Regions from separate parts of the Homo sapiens genome. Here region 2 is linked to region 1. The links are contacts of gene promoters, found by promoter capture Hi-C in human tissues and cell types (Jung and others, 2019). All regions are on one chromosome and are shown on one strand. The core of a region is centred on a gene start or on the middle of the fragment in contact, and the rest is flanking DNA. Distances in the headings are between cores, read along the strand shown. Region 1 holds the start of CNBP (CCHC-type zinc finger nucleic acid binding protein). Region 2 has its middle 33 kb from the start of RAB7A.

The links. The method cuts DNA at HindIII sites, captures the fragments that hold promoters and counts their contacts. A contact is called where the count stands out against the background at its distance.
Region 2: a contact is called between a fragment that was not itself captured here and the fragment with the promoter of CNBP in region 1, in 1 of the 25 tissues and cell types used here (spleen).

What each region holds. Positions count from the first base shown.
Region 1 is chr3:129,178,844-129,185,159 of GRCh38, forward strand. It overlaps CNBP (CCHC-type zinc finger nucleic acid binding protein), which reads right to left and starts at 5,053. Exons shown (of 5, transcript NM_003418.5): 1 at 4,933-5,053. LOC105374101 (a long non-coding RNA gene) reads left to right here and starts at 5,231. Exons shown (of 2, transcript XR_924469.3): 1 at 5,231-5,629. RefSeq lists an enhancer at 5,387-5,476. The HindIII fragment of the contact is 21,375 bases long and covers 1-6,316 here.
Region 2 is chr3:128,689,255-128,696,130 of GRCh38, forward strand. No RefSeq gene overlaps it. Among named protein-coding and RNA genes, the nearest start is that of RAB7A, 33 kb to the right of the region's middle. The HindIII fragment of the contact is 7,361 bases long and covers 1-5,258 here.

The DNA.
Region 1 (6,316 bases), core at 3,803-6,302:
CCCATTCTCCTGCCTCAACCTCTCGAGTAGCTGGGACTACAGGTGCCCACCACGACGCCTGGCTACTTTTTTTTTGTATTTTTAGTAGAGACGGGGGTTTCACCGTGTTAGCCAGGATGGCCCAGATTCTTTTAATAAAAACGAACTATGGGGGCCGGGTGTGCTGGCTCACACCTGTAATCCCAGCACTTTGGGAGGCAGAGGTGGGTGGATCACCAAAGGTCGGGAGCTCAGGACCAGCCTGACCAACATGGAGAAATCCCGTCTCTACTAAAAACACAAAATTGGCCGGGTGTGGTGGCCCGTGCCTGTAGTTCCAAATACTCAGGAGGCTGAGGCAGGAGAATCGCTTGAACCCGGGAGGCAGAGGTTGCGGTGAGCCGAGATCATGCCATCGCACTCCAGCCTGGGCAACAAGAGCGAAACTCCACCTCAAAGGAAAAAAAGAAGAAAAAAAAAGCAATGAAAGGAAGCAATATACTTTCTGTATTACCTGCATTCCAGCCAGAATAATGGAAAACAGAGTACTTACTCGGGAGCAATTCTGTATTTTTATCCTGGTTCCTGAACTTACTGCTTGACCTTGGTTAATTACATCCATTTCCGCCTGCCCTGATTACTTCTTGAAGAGTTTTAACAGCTGGATATCTATGAGTCAGTCATTAGTAAACATATCTATAATCTTACAACCTCACGAGTTATGTATTCTTGCTCCATTTTAATGACAAACTAAACATCTGACACTGGCCAGGGGCAGTGGCTCATGCCTGTAATCCCAGCACTTTGGGAGGCTGAGGAGGGAAGATCACTTGAGGTCGGCAGCCTGGCCAACATAGTGACACCCCATCTCTACTAAATATACAAAAATTAACTGGGCGTGGTGGTGCATGAGGCAAGAGAATCGCTTGAACCCAGGAGGTGGAGGCTGCAGTGAGCCGAGATCATGCCATTTGCACTCCAGTGTGGGTGACAAAGCGAGACTCCGTCTCCAAAAAAAACTAAAAAAACAAAAATTAGCCGGGCGTGGTGGCACACGCCTATAGTCCCAGCTACTCAGGAGGCTGAGGCAGGAGAATGGCTTAAACCCAGGAGGCAGAGGTTGCAGTGAGCTGAGATCCTGCCATTGCACTCCCGCCTGGGCGACAGAGCAAGACTTTGTCTCCAAAAAAAAAAGAAAAGGAAAAAAAAAGTTAAGTGGTAAAGTACACAAAAATGCTATCGTAATATATGACAAAAATGCTATTGTGTAATATTTTTAAGGTAGGGAATTATACCAATTCAATCTCTACTTCAAAATATTACATAAAGGTATTACTACTATATATCTAGTAACTAAGAAAAAAAAAAGCCACGCACATTTGAATTGTAATGCTGTAAGTATTCATTCTGTATTTCTCTTTAGATAAAAATCAAAGTAAAACTAATACTGATAGCTTTTTAAAAGATCTACAGTCATAATAATTTTGAATTCATTCACACAGCTTTCTTGAATCTTAAAAAATATTTTCTTTAACTTCATGGCAGAACTTAGGAGTCTCACCAAACACACAAACACTGGCAACTTGCTTCACTAGTTAACACCTCATTTGTATTTATGGAGCCATTCCAGGTGATCACTGTAGCACTCTCATATTCCTAATTAACAAAATCCTTCTAATTACAACTTAAAATTTGGTGGCCTCAAGTTCTCACTTTATTATCTCAGTAGTTTTAAACATGAAAATGCTGCATAGCTTACTGCAATCACTCAATGGCATTCCCTTGCTGCTGCAGCATCTGACACTGCCAGAACAGGAGTTCTATTAAGTGAGACAGTAAGGAAAGAGCGTTCTCCACATAGCAGGCCAGGATGCCTTGGCATCATTCTTCTGGCTCTCTACTTACTGTCAGGAGGCTAGGAAGAGAAAAAGGAACCAATCTTTTTTTTTTTTTTTAATTTTTCATCCCTGCAAGGAAAAAAAAGCAGAATCTCTCTGTGGTCAAATCTTCAGCCAATAGACAAATCATTCCAATTAGTCCAATGGTGGTTTCACTGCTTTTAGGCACCAGTTTGGTACTATCCCATATACGTGCCACATATTTTTATTGAACTTTAAAAGACAAGTAGAATTGTTGGCAAGGCACGGTGGCTCAGGCCTGTAATCCCAGCACTTTGGGAGGCCGAGGCGGGTGAATTACCTGAGGTCAGGAGATCAAGACCAGCCTGGCCAACATGGTGAAACCCCGTCTCTACAAAAAATACAAAAATTAGCCGGGCGTGGTGGCACACGCCTGTAATCCCAGCTACTTGGGAGGCTGAGGCAGGAGAATTGCTTGAGCCCGGGAGATGGAGGCTGCTGTGAGCCGAGACTGTGCCACTGCATTCCAGCCTGGCCGACAGAGAAAGACTCTGTCTCAAAAAAAAAAAAAAAAAAAAAAAAAAAGACAAGTAGAATTGTCATAAATCATGTAACAAAACACATTTATACTTTAAAAAAGACATCTCCCTGCCTGTTCCAGATGTTCAAATGCCAGTTTAAGAAAAACCTGGCCAGGCGCGGTGGCTCCTGCCTGTAATCCTAGCACTTTGAGAGGCCGAGGGAGTCGGATCACAAGGTCAGGAGTTCGAGACCAGCCTGGCCAACATGGTGAAACCCCGTCTGTACTAAAATACAAAAACTAGCTGGGTGTGGCGGCGGGCGCCTGTAATCCCAGCTACTTCGGAGGCTGAGGCAGGAGAATCGCTTAATCCGGGAGGCGGAGGTCGCAGTGAGCCGAGATCGCGCCACTGCACTCCAGCTTGGGCGACAGAGTGAGACTCCGTCTCAGAAAAAAAAAAAGAAAAACCCCTGGTCTTCCACTGATTTGGTTCAAAATATTTTACAGACTGCACCATCTGAAATACATTACCTCTCCTGTTACCAATATGAAAAAAAAGAGGACCTTTGGTTCCTCAGAAAAACACAAACTGTTATTTTTTTAAAGAAAAACTTATCAAGAGATGAAATCGGAAAAACTTAAGTCTTTAATTCTGCCCTTGGGAATGTAATAAATTATTCCTTTTATATTCCAATACACAAAGAACTCTTGTAGACAAGAATCAGGCTCAACAAACTAAAAACAGCATGTACCTAGGATCCTGGCAGTTTACAGGTGTTTGATTATCCTTAACCAGAGTAACTCATTAGAAGCATTTAAAACTATTTAGGAGGGGGGAGGGGGAAGCCCAGGAGATAAGTACTATATCTCTTATCTTTTTGAAACCCTCAAAGCTCTACACTCCAGTTATACTGCTTGAACAAACAAATAACATAAAATTGCTAATTTAAATTCGAATGGAAATAGTAACTGGTTACGTTTCACTCCAAAATTGGGTCAAACAATAGGAAAGGGGGAAAAATCTACTTTTAAAAATGTAATTTAAAAGCAAGATGGGGATATTCATTAGACCTCCTTCACTTTGAGAAAGACAAAAAACAAATTCAGTTTTGGCTTATCTCACCTGAGTCCTTCTGAATAATGCCTGAAACACACTAGCTAAAATCACAGACGATTACTGAGCAATGTTCTCTTTTTACAAGACCCCCAAGACCAGAAACAGTCACTTCCTTTGGAAGTGCCCTGTGGCTGAGGCCATATGGTTAACATGTGGGAACAAGCACAAGCCTTACCCATAATAAAATCAACACCTAAACCCAAATGTGGACCATTATGCCATTCTAAAACAGGTTCTCACGATATGGAAAAATCTAGATGGAGGGGAGCTAGTTGAATTTCGTGTCTCGTTTGTAATTACATCTGTTTCATTAATCCAAGAAATGATGCAGACTACCGCCCGCTGCTGTGGTTTTGGAGGTTTGACAAATTCGTGTTTTTTCTGGTAATGGCGCTTTTAAAGGATCCCAGCAACTTAAATAGTGTTAACTCTTGGAATGTGAGCCCCATCAGCCCCTTTTGGAATGGTAATGTAACACAAGCAACTTAGTATTTAAATGACGATAAAAATTCAAGAATCGGAAAACTATCAAGGATAGGGAGTATAAACTCTAAAAGCTCCCAAGTCTTCCAGCAGTCTCGCCACTCCAAACACAAAGGCTTCTTCAGGAACCCTTTGTTGTTGTTTGTTTGTTTGTTTGTTTGTTTTTTTAAGACGGAGTCTCTCTCTGTTGCCCATGCTGGAGTGTAGTGGCGCGATCTCGGCTCACCACAACCTCGGCCTCCGGGGTTCACGCGATTCTCCTGTCCAGCCTCCCGAGCTGCTGGGACTACATGCGCCCGCCACCATGCCCGGCTAATTTTTTATTTTTAGTACAGACCAACTTTCACCATATTGGTCAGGCTGGTCTCGAACTCCTGACCTCGTGATCCGCCCGCCTGGGACTCTCAAAGTGCTGGGATTACAGGCGTGAGCCACCGCGCCCGGCCTAAGAACCCTTTTCTAAGGCCCCCAAAACCCTTGGCACATGGCCCGCCAGGCGCACGACCCCAGCACATGGCCTGCACGACTATACCCACCCCATCCCCCCTTCATCCGCAGCCGGGAGCCTTTCCCCACCACACGGACTCCTTCCAGTGAGTTCCCGCCAAATCCACCCTCGGTCCCTCATTCCGCGACCCTCGAAGCGTCAGGGCCTCGGCCCCAAGGGCGCACGGGCGGGCCTCCTCTGCCCTAAGCCTGCGGCCTGGGGTGCGGCCGTGGCGCCGAAAGACCCGCATGCTCGGCGACCCAGCTTTCCAGGACGAAGAAAGGACAGAAGTGTCGTCCGACAGCGGTGCGCCAGAAACCCGGGTCCGAGGCGGCGGCAGCAGCCGAGCTTCCCGCCTGACGCAGCAGAGGCGCAGGCCAAAGTGCGGCCGCCATCGCCACCTCGCCGCTCCCTACCCTCTCTGTCCGCCACAGACCCGACCCGCACTGCGGCTCCGTCAGCGCCGGGCCCCTCCCCCAGCCCTCACCTTCCGCGTCGGAGCGGGCCCGCAGCGGCGGAGACTCGGACGCAGGCCTGGGGAAGACGGCTCGCAAGGTAGAGGCTGTTTATTTTGAGGGTCCTTGCCTGCGCCACACGCGGGTCTGCACACGGCCCCACATACGCCGCTGCGCACGGCTCTCCTCCGCCTCGCCCACGCGGCCAATCAGCGCGCGGGGTTCGGCAGTCCAATCAGAGCCGCCCGCGGCAGGGCCGCCCACTAGAGCGCGGCGCGGGGCGGGTGTTTCTGCGCGCAGCGTCTTTTCCCGCCGTGCCCCGCGCGCGGCCTTTCACGCCGGGATCCGGGTCCCGGTGCTTCTCGGTTCATTCCCAGCTGGGTCCGGGCCCGGCCAGACTGGGTGGAAATCTGGCTGACCTTGGTGGTCTGTCTTGGCCAGCTGGAGCAAAGGGATGCCAGGGGACGGGTCTCGGTGCAGTGACTGCCATTAGCTTGGGGCCGCAGAAAGTTTCTCCCCTTTCTCGGGCTCCTGCCAGGCCCTTGGCTTTCAGAGCCAGGCCCGATTTCTAGATAACATTTAAGTTTGCAGAAAAGGGGATGCCAAGTCACGGTGGTCACGGCTGTGGGATGCAGCCTCTGAGATTTGTATTAATTTTTGTGAGCCGGGGAAAGGCCTTGCTGCTTTCTCCGCCAGGACTGATGTGTCTTCCCAAGATGAAAGTGCCTGGTAAGGGCGAGGGGCCTCCCTGGGAAGGTCATGAGCATGTAAGGTAATGGGGCCTAGACTGTGACTTTTGGCACGTTTATGAGTGACATCCCCCGGGAGGGCAAGGATAACCATTTGACCTGGTCTGTCATATTCAGGAATAGACTTCAGTTTAGTTGTGGTATTTTCTCCAAAAGAGATTTGTGTATATAGCCCTAGATAGTCTTGTCAAGATTAAACCCAATTTAAACTGTTAACTATAAAATATTTTAGAATTTTGTCTCATTCTAGAATGGCTTTATTCGAAACAAAAAAAAAGGAAGAGTCCCAAGTTTCGTCTCAGTGAAACCTGCCAGTTCAACACTATGATTTATTTTTCTTTTTTTCTTTAATTTTTTTTTTTTTTAAGAGTAGGGTCTTGCTCTGTCGCTGGGTTTACAGGCATAAGCCACCAATCCCAAATCCCGGGGCTATGATTTTTGAAATCATGTTCGTGAGAAGGCAGAGCACATGTGTTGAGAGTCAGACTTTAAACCTGGGTTCAAATCATTAGTGCTTAATCATTGTAAAGCAGTTAGGAGGTTGCGTTCAACATAGCAATTATCAAAGAATGAATGTATAACTTTAAAGACCAATGATATTTTAAACTTTTTTTTTTTTTTGAGAACGGAGTCTCACTCCGTTGCCCAGGCTGGAGTGCAATGGCAC
Region 2 (6,876 bases), core at 328-2,827, 490 kb before region 1:
GTCTTGATGTTGATGATTGTTGTCATGTGAGAGTAGAGGAAAGATGTGGTTTACAGGGTGTTTTCACTACACAATACACTCTCAAAGACATAAAAGTAAGAGCTGGCTAGGCGTGGTGGTTCACGCCTGTAATCCCAGCACTATGGGAGGCCGAGGCCGGTGGATCACCTGAGGTCAGGAGTTCAAGACCAGCCTGGCCAACATGGTGAAACTCTGTCTCTACTGAAAAAAAATAGCCAGGTGTTGTGATGTGCGCCTATAATCCCAGCTACTCGGGAGGCTGAGGCAGGAGAATCGCTTGAACCCAGGAGGCCGAGGTTGCAGTGAGCCAAAATCGCGCCACTGCACTCCAGCCTGGGCAGCAGAGCAAGACTCCGCCTGAAAAAAAAAAAATATAAGAGCTAAAACTATAAAAATCTTAGAAGCAAGGATGGAGGGAAAGCTTCATGATTTTGGATTTGGTGATGATTTTGTGGCTATGACACCACAGGCACAGGCAACAAAAGAAAAATAGACAAACTGGGGCCGGGTGTGGTGGCTCACGCACTTTGGGAGGCTGAGGCGGGTGAATCACCTGGGCTCAGGAGTTCGAGACCACCCATGGCAACATGGTGAAACCCCATCTCTACTAAAAATACAGAAAAATTAGCTGGGAATGGTGGCGTGCTCCTGTAGTCCCAGCTACTTAGGAGGCCAAGGCGAGAATCGCTTGAGCTCTGGAGGAGGAGGTTGCAGTGAGCCAAGATTGCATCACTGCACTCCAGCTTGGGCTACAGAGTGAGACTCTGTCTCAAAAAAAAAGACAAATTAGACCTCATTGAAATTAACTTTTGTGCATTGAAGGGTTGGAAAGCTTTGATACATTTCCTCACCAATCATAAAGGTCATGGCCAACATGCCTATGACAAAAGACAGAATTACAAGAGAAAATAATAACAAACTTATTTACAACATTTTACACAATACAGGAGCTTCTGGAAATGAAGACCTAAAGACCAAGGGAAAACTATTTGTATGCTTAGGTTGAATGAAGAATGGACAGCCATGTAGAAATATGATTGGACAAAAAGGGTGTGATCTAATAGTAATACACTGAGGGGAAGAAACCCAGTAAGGTTCAAATTCTTCTTGGTCTCTCAGTGTAGCATTTCTTTGCCCTAGGTATCGGCAGGACTCTTCTGGAATGAGGGTCTTCAAGGGAGAAGAGGAGAGTAACCTCGCTTTTTTTTTCTTTCTTTTTTTTTTTTTTTTGAGACAGTCTTGTTCTGTCATCTAGGCTGGAGTGCAGTGGCATAATCTCAGCTCACTGCAACCTCTGCCTCCTGGGTTCAAGCAATTCTCCTGCCTCAACCTCCCCTGCCTCAGCCTCCTGAGTAGCTGGGACTACAGGCGTGTGCCACCACGCCCAACTTTTTTTTTTTTTTTTTTTTTTTGTATTTTTAGTAGAGACGGGGTTTCACCATGTTGGCCAGGGTGGTGTCGAACTCCTGACTTCAGGTGATCCGCCCATCTCGGCCTCCCAAAGTGCTGGGATTACAGGAATGAGCCACCGTGCCCAGCCTAGACAGAGTAACTTTTCTAGGTTTTGTGGCTAGCTCTGGGGGAGTGGGATTCTAGTTACTACAACCTGCCTTGGGAAGAAGGGTTCTGATTCTCACTTCAGTGGAGAAAGAGGGATGGGAGATAGGAGGGCAGGAGAAGGTCAGAGAGAGACTTTGCTTCTGGAACCTTTCAGTCTCCTTTAGTTCAAAGCACTCAGCATGCTAAAGCAGCATACTTTGGGGTATCATTTTCTGAGCCTGAACAGCATCAAAGAAAAACAAAGGGTTCTGGTATATTTATGGGAGGCCATTGATTTGGTTTTTTTGTTTGTTTGTTTTATGAGACACGGTCTCACTCTGTTGCCCAGGCTGGCGTGTAGCGATGCCATCATGACTTACTGCAGTCTTGACCTCCTGGGCTCAAGCGATCTTACCACTTCATCCTCCCCGGTAATTGGGACTACTATTTTTTTGTAGAGAAGAGGTTTCATCATACTGCCCAGGCTATTGTTGAACTCCTGAGCTCAAGGGATCCTCCCACCTCGGCCCCTGAAAGTGCTAGAATTACAGGTGTGAGCCACAGTGCCTGGCCAAATGGAGGCCATTGATTTGTACTGAGCTCCTCCTACACTAGGCCCCTACAGGCTGACCCAAAATGGAGTCACTCATGCTAAGGTTCCATGTCACCAAACTGAAACCTAAGCTGTTTGCTTATAAGATCTGACCTTAGGGCTGGGCGTGGTGGCTCACGCCTGTAATCCCAGCACTTTGGGAGGCCGAGGCGGGTGGATCACTTGAGGTCAGGAGTTCGAGACCAGCCTGACCAACATGGTGAAACCCCATCTCTACTAAAAATACAAAAATTAGCTGGGTGTGGTAGTGCATGTCTGTAATCCCAGCTACTTGGGAGGCTGAGGCAGGAGAATTGCATGAACCCAGGAGGCAAACGTTGCCGTGAGCTGAGATCGTGCCACTGGACTCCAGCCTGCGCAACAGAGCAAAACTCTTGTCTAAAAAAAAAAAAAAAAATCTGACCTTCTGAGAAATCAGGAGAGAGGCAACAGTCAAATCCCCAATAGGTCAGTTTTACAAAAAAATAGATTCACAGCAACCAATCAAAAGGGGCCCATTCAACCTAAGCTGCTTGATAAGGAAGTCCCCTCTGCTTTAAGCCATGCAAGGAAAGTAACCCGAAGGAACCTAATGTTAACCAATCCACTTTTTTTTTTTTTTTGAGATGGAGTCTCGCTCTGTAGCCCAGGCTGGAGTGCAGTGGCGCAATCTCGGCTCACTGCAACCTCCGCCTTCCGGGTTCACGCCATTCTCCTGCCTCAGCCTCCCAAGTAGCTGGGACTACAGGCGCCCGCCACCAAGCCCGGCTCATTTTTTTTGTATTTTTAGTAGAGACGGGGTTTCACCATGTTAGCCAGGATGGTCTCGATCTCCTGACCTCGTGATCTGCCCTCCTTGGCCTCCCAAAGTGCTGGGATTACAGGCATGAGCCACCGCGCCCAGCCAACCAATCCACTTTTTCCACTATGCTGTTTCCTTGTTCCTGGTCAAGCTGCCTGCCTTAGAAAAACCTACTGCTCTGCCATGCCTGGTAGAGCTCCTGTCTATTTTGTAGGCTGGATGTTGCTCAGTTCATGAATCACCAATAAAAGCTAATTAGATCTTTATTTTTTTTACAGACAGTGTCTTGCTCTGTCACCCAGGCTACAGTGCAGTAGTGCAATCCTAGCTCACTGTAACCTTAAACTCCTAGGCTCTGGTGATCCCCCCACCCCGGCCTCCCAAAGTAAGGAGATTACAAGCATGAGATACCACATCTAGCCAAATCTTTAAAACTCAATGTGTTGAAATTGTGTTTTTGACACAACACACAGAATAGGAGAAAATATTTGTGAATCATATATCTGATAAGAGATTAATATCCAGAATGCATGCAGAACTCCTAAAACTCAACAACAGAAAACCCATTTTCAAAATAAGCAAGGGTTGCACAGCAATCTGAACATACTTAATATCTGTGTGAGATAGAGGAACAAACCTAAGTGATTTTTCCTACTCTTACCCAGTCACTCAACACTGCCAACAGCAGATATGCGGGGGTTATTTCCCCACACACCAAACATCGATTCTGCGGATTCCCCAGTAGACATCAGCTGGGTGTCCTCCAGTTCAGTTCTGACACCATCTACCTGGAGATAGTGTCAGATCCCACAGGTTGAGGGCTCTAGTCCCACAAGGCTGCCCCCCACTTCAGATGCTGCAAGCACGGGTCGTGGTCTGTGCTTCTGACCAATTGGCTATAAACTGGGGCTCCCAGGATTTATTTAATTGGCTAGTGTGGCTCACAAGACTCAGGGAACCACTTACTGATGTATACTGGTTTCTTATAAAGGATATTACAAAGAATACAGATGAACACTGTAATCCCAGCACTTTGGGAGGCTGAGCGAGGCAGGCAGATCACCTGAGGTCAGGAGTTGGAGATCAGCCTGGCCAACATGGCAAAACCCCGTCTCTACTAAAAACATAAAAATTAGCTGGGCATGGTGGCATGTGCCTGTAGTCCCAGCTACTCAGGAGGCTGAGGCATGAGAATCGCTTGAACCTGGGAGGTAGGGGTTGTGGTGAGGCAAAATTGTGCCACTGCACTGCAGCCTGGGCAACAGAGTGAGACTCTGTCACAAGCAAGCAAACAAACAAACAAAAAAACAGATGAACAGCCAGATGGACGAGATGCCCAGGAAGAGGTGTGGGGAAGATGCACAGAGTTTCTATGCCTTCTCTAGGCATGCCCCTCTCCAGGAATCTGCCTGTGCTCAGCTGTTGGGAAGCTCTTCTGAACCCTGTCCTTTTGGGTTTTTAGGGAGGCTTCATGACCTACACAACTGACTAAATCATTGGCCTTTGGTGATCAACTCAGCCTTCAGCTTCTCTCTCCTCCCCAAAGTCAGGGGGCTGCTGAAAGTTCCAACCATCTAATCACAGGTTGGTTCCCTTGTCAACCAGCTCCAATCCTGAGGATATCAGGGATCTGCCAAGAGTTCCCTCATTAGAACAAAAGAGCTCCGCTCCTGTCACCCAGGAAATTCCAACAGATTTAGGAACTCTGTGTCAGGAACCAGGGTCAAAGACCAAATGTTAGAACAAAAGATTGTCTTAGCACCCCTACTGCTTAGAAAATTACATGAGTATTAGGGGCTCTGTGCCAGCAACTGGGGCAGAGACCAATGTGTATATACATATATACGTGTGTATATATGTATGTATATATATGTGTGTGTATATATATATTATTTATTTTTTTGTTTTTGGAGATGGAGTCTCGCTCTGTCGCCCAGTGTGGAGTGCAATAGCGAGGTCTCGGCTCACTGCAACCTCTGCCTCCCAGGTTCAAGCTATTCTCCTGCCTCAGCATCCCAAGTTGCTGGGATTACAGGTGCCTGCCACCACGCCTCGCTAATTTTTGTATTTTTAGTAGAGATGGGGTTACACCATGTTGGCCAGGCTGGTCTCCAACTCCTGACCTCGTGATCTGCCTGCCTCGGCCTCCCAAAGTACTGGGACTACAGGCATGAGCCACTGTGCCCGGCCCTTTTTTATTTTATTTTATTTTATTTATTTATTTTTTTTTGAGACGGAGTCTTGCTCTGTTGCTCAGGCTGGAGTGCAGTGGCACAATCTCAGCTCACTGCAAGCTCCGCCTCCTAGGTTCACGCCATTCTCCTGCCTCAGCCTCCCGAGTAGGTGAGACTATGGGCACACGCCACCGAGCCAGGCTAATTTTTTCTATTTTTTAGTAGAGAGGGGGTTTCACCGTGTTAGCCAGGATGGTCTCGATCTCCTGACTTCATGATCCGCCCACCTCAGCCTCCCAAAGTGCTGGGATTACAGGCATGAGCCACTGCACCCAGCTGGCCCTTTTTTATTTTTTGAGACCGTCTCTCTCTGTCGCCCAGGCTGGAGTGCATTGGTGAGATCTCGGCTCACTGCAACCTCTGCTTCCTGGGTTCAAGCAATTCTCCCTGCCTCAGCCTCCCAAGTAGCTGGGATTACGGGCGCCCACCACCAAGCCTGTGTAATTTTTTTTTTTTTTTTTTTTGAGACAGAGTTTCACTCTTGTGGCCCATGCTGGAGGGCAGTGTCACAGATCGGCTCACTGCAACCTCTACCTTCTGGCTTCAAGCAATTCTCCTGCCTCACCCTCCCGAGTAGCTGGGATTATGGGCATGTGCCACCACCCCTGGCTAATTTTGTATTTTTAGTAGAGATGGGGTTTCACCATGTTGGCCAGGCTGGTCCTGAACTCCTAGCCTCAGGTGATCTGCCTGCCTCGGCCTCCCAAAGTGCTGGGATTACAGGCGTGAGCCATCATGCCTGCCTAATTTTTGTATTTTTAGTAGAGATGGGGTTTCGCCGTGTTGGCCAGGCTGGTCTTGAACTCCTAACCACAGGTGATCTGACTGCCTCAGCCTCCCAAAGTGCTAGGATTACAGGTGTAAGCCACGGCATCAGGCCAATATTTATTATTATCTTACAATGCCATTAAACAATACACTTAAACATTGTTGGCTGGGCACAGTGGCTCACATCTGTAATCCCAGCACTTTGGGAGGCCAAAGCAGGCAGATCACCTGAGGTCAGGAGTTTGAGACCAGCGTGGCCAACATGGTGAAACCTCATCTCTACTAAAAATACAAAAATTAGCTGGGCGTGGTGGCAAACACCTGTAATCCCACCTACCCAGGAAGCTGAGGCAGGAGAATCACTTGAACCCAGGAGGCGGGAGTAGCAGTGAGCTGAGATCACGCCAATGCACTCCAGCCTGGGTAATAAAGCGAGCCTCTGTCTCAAAAGAAAAAAAAAACTGTTAAGCCAGGTGTAGTGGCACATGCCTCTAGTTCCAGGTACTCAGGAGGCTGAAGCAGGAAGATTGTTTGAGCCCAGGAGTTCAAGACCAGCCTGGGCAACACAGCAAGACCCGCCTGGGCAACACAGCAAGACCCTGTCTCTTAAAAAAAAAAAAAAAAAAAAAAAAAAAAAAAAAAAAAAGCCAGGCATGGTGGCTCACGCCTGTAATCCCAGCACTCTGGGAGGCCGAGGCGGGTGGATCACCTGAGGTCAGGAGTTTGAGAGCAGCCTGGCTAACATGGTGAAACCCCATTTCTACTAAAAAAACAAAAAATTAGCCAGGCGTGGTGGCGCGATCCTGTAATTCCAGCTACTCGGGAGGCTGAGGCAGGAGAATTGCTTGAACCCGGGAGGCAGAGGTTGCAGTGAGCCGAGATCGCGCCATTGCACTCCAGCTTGGGCAACAAGAGCAAAA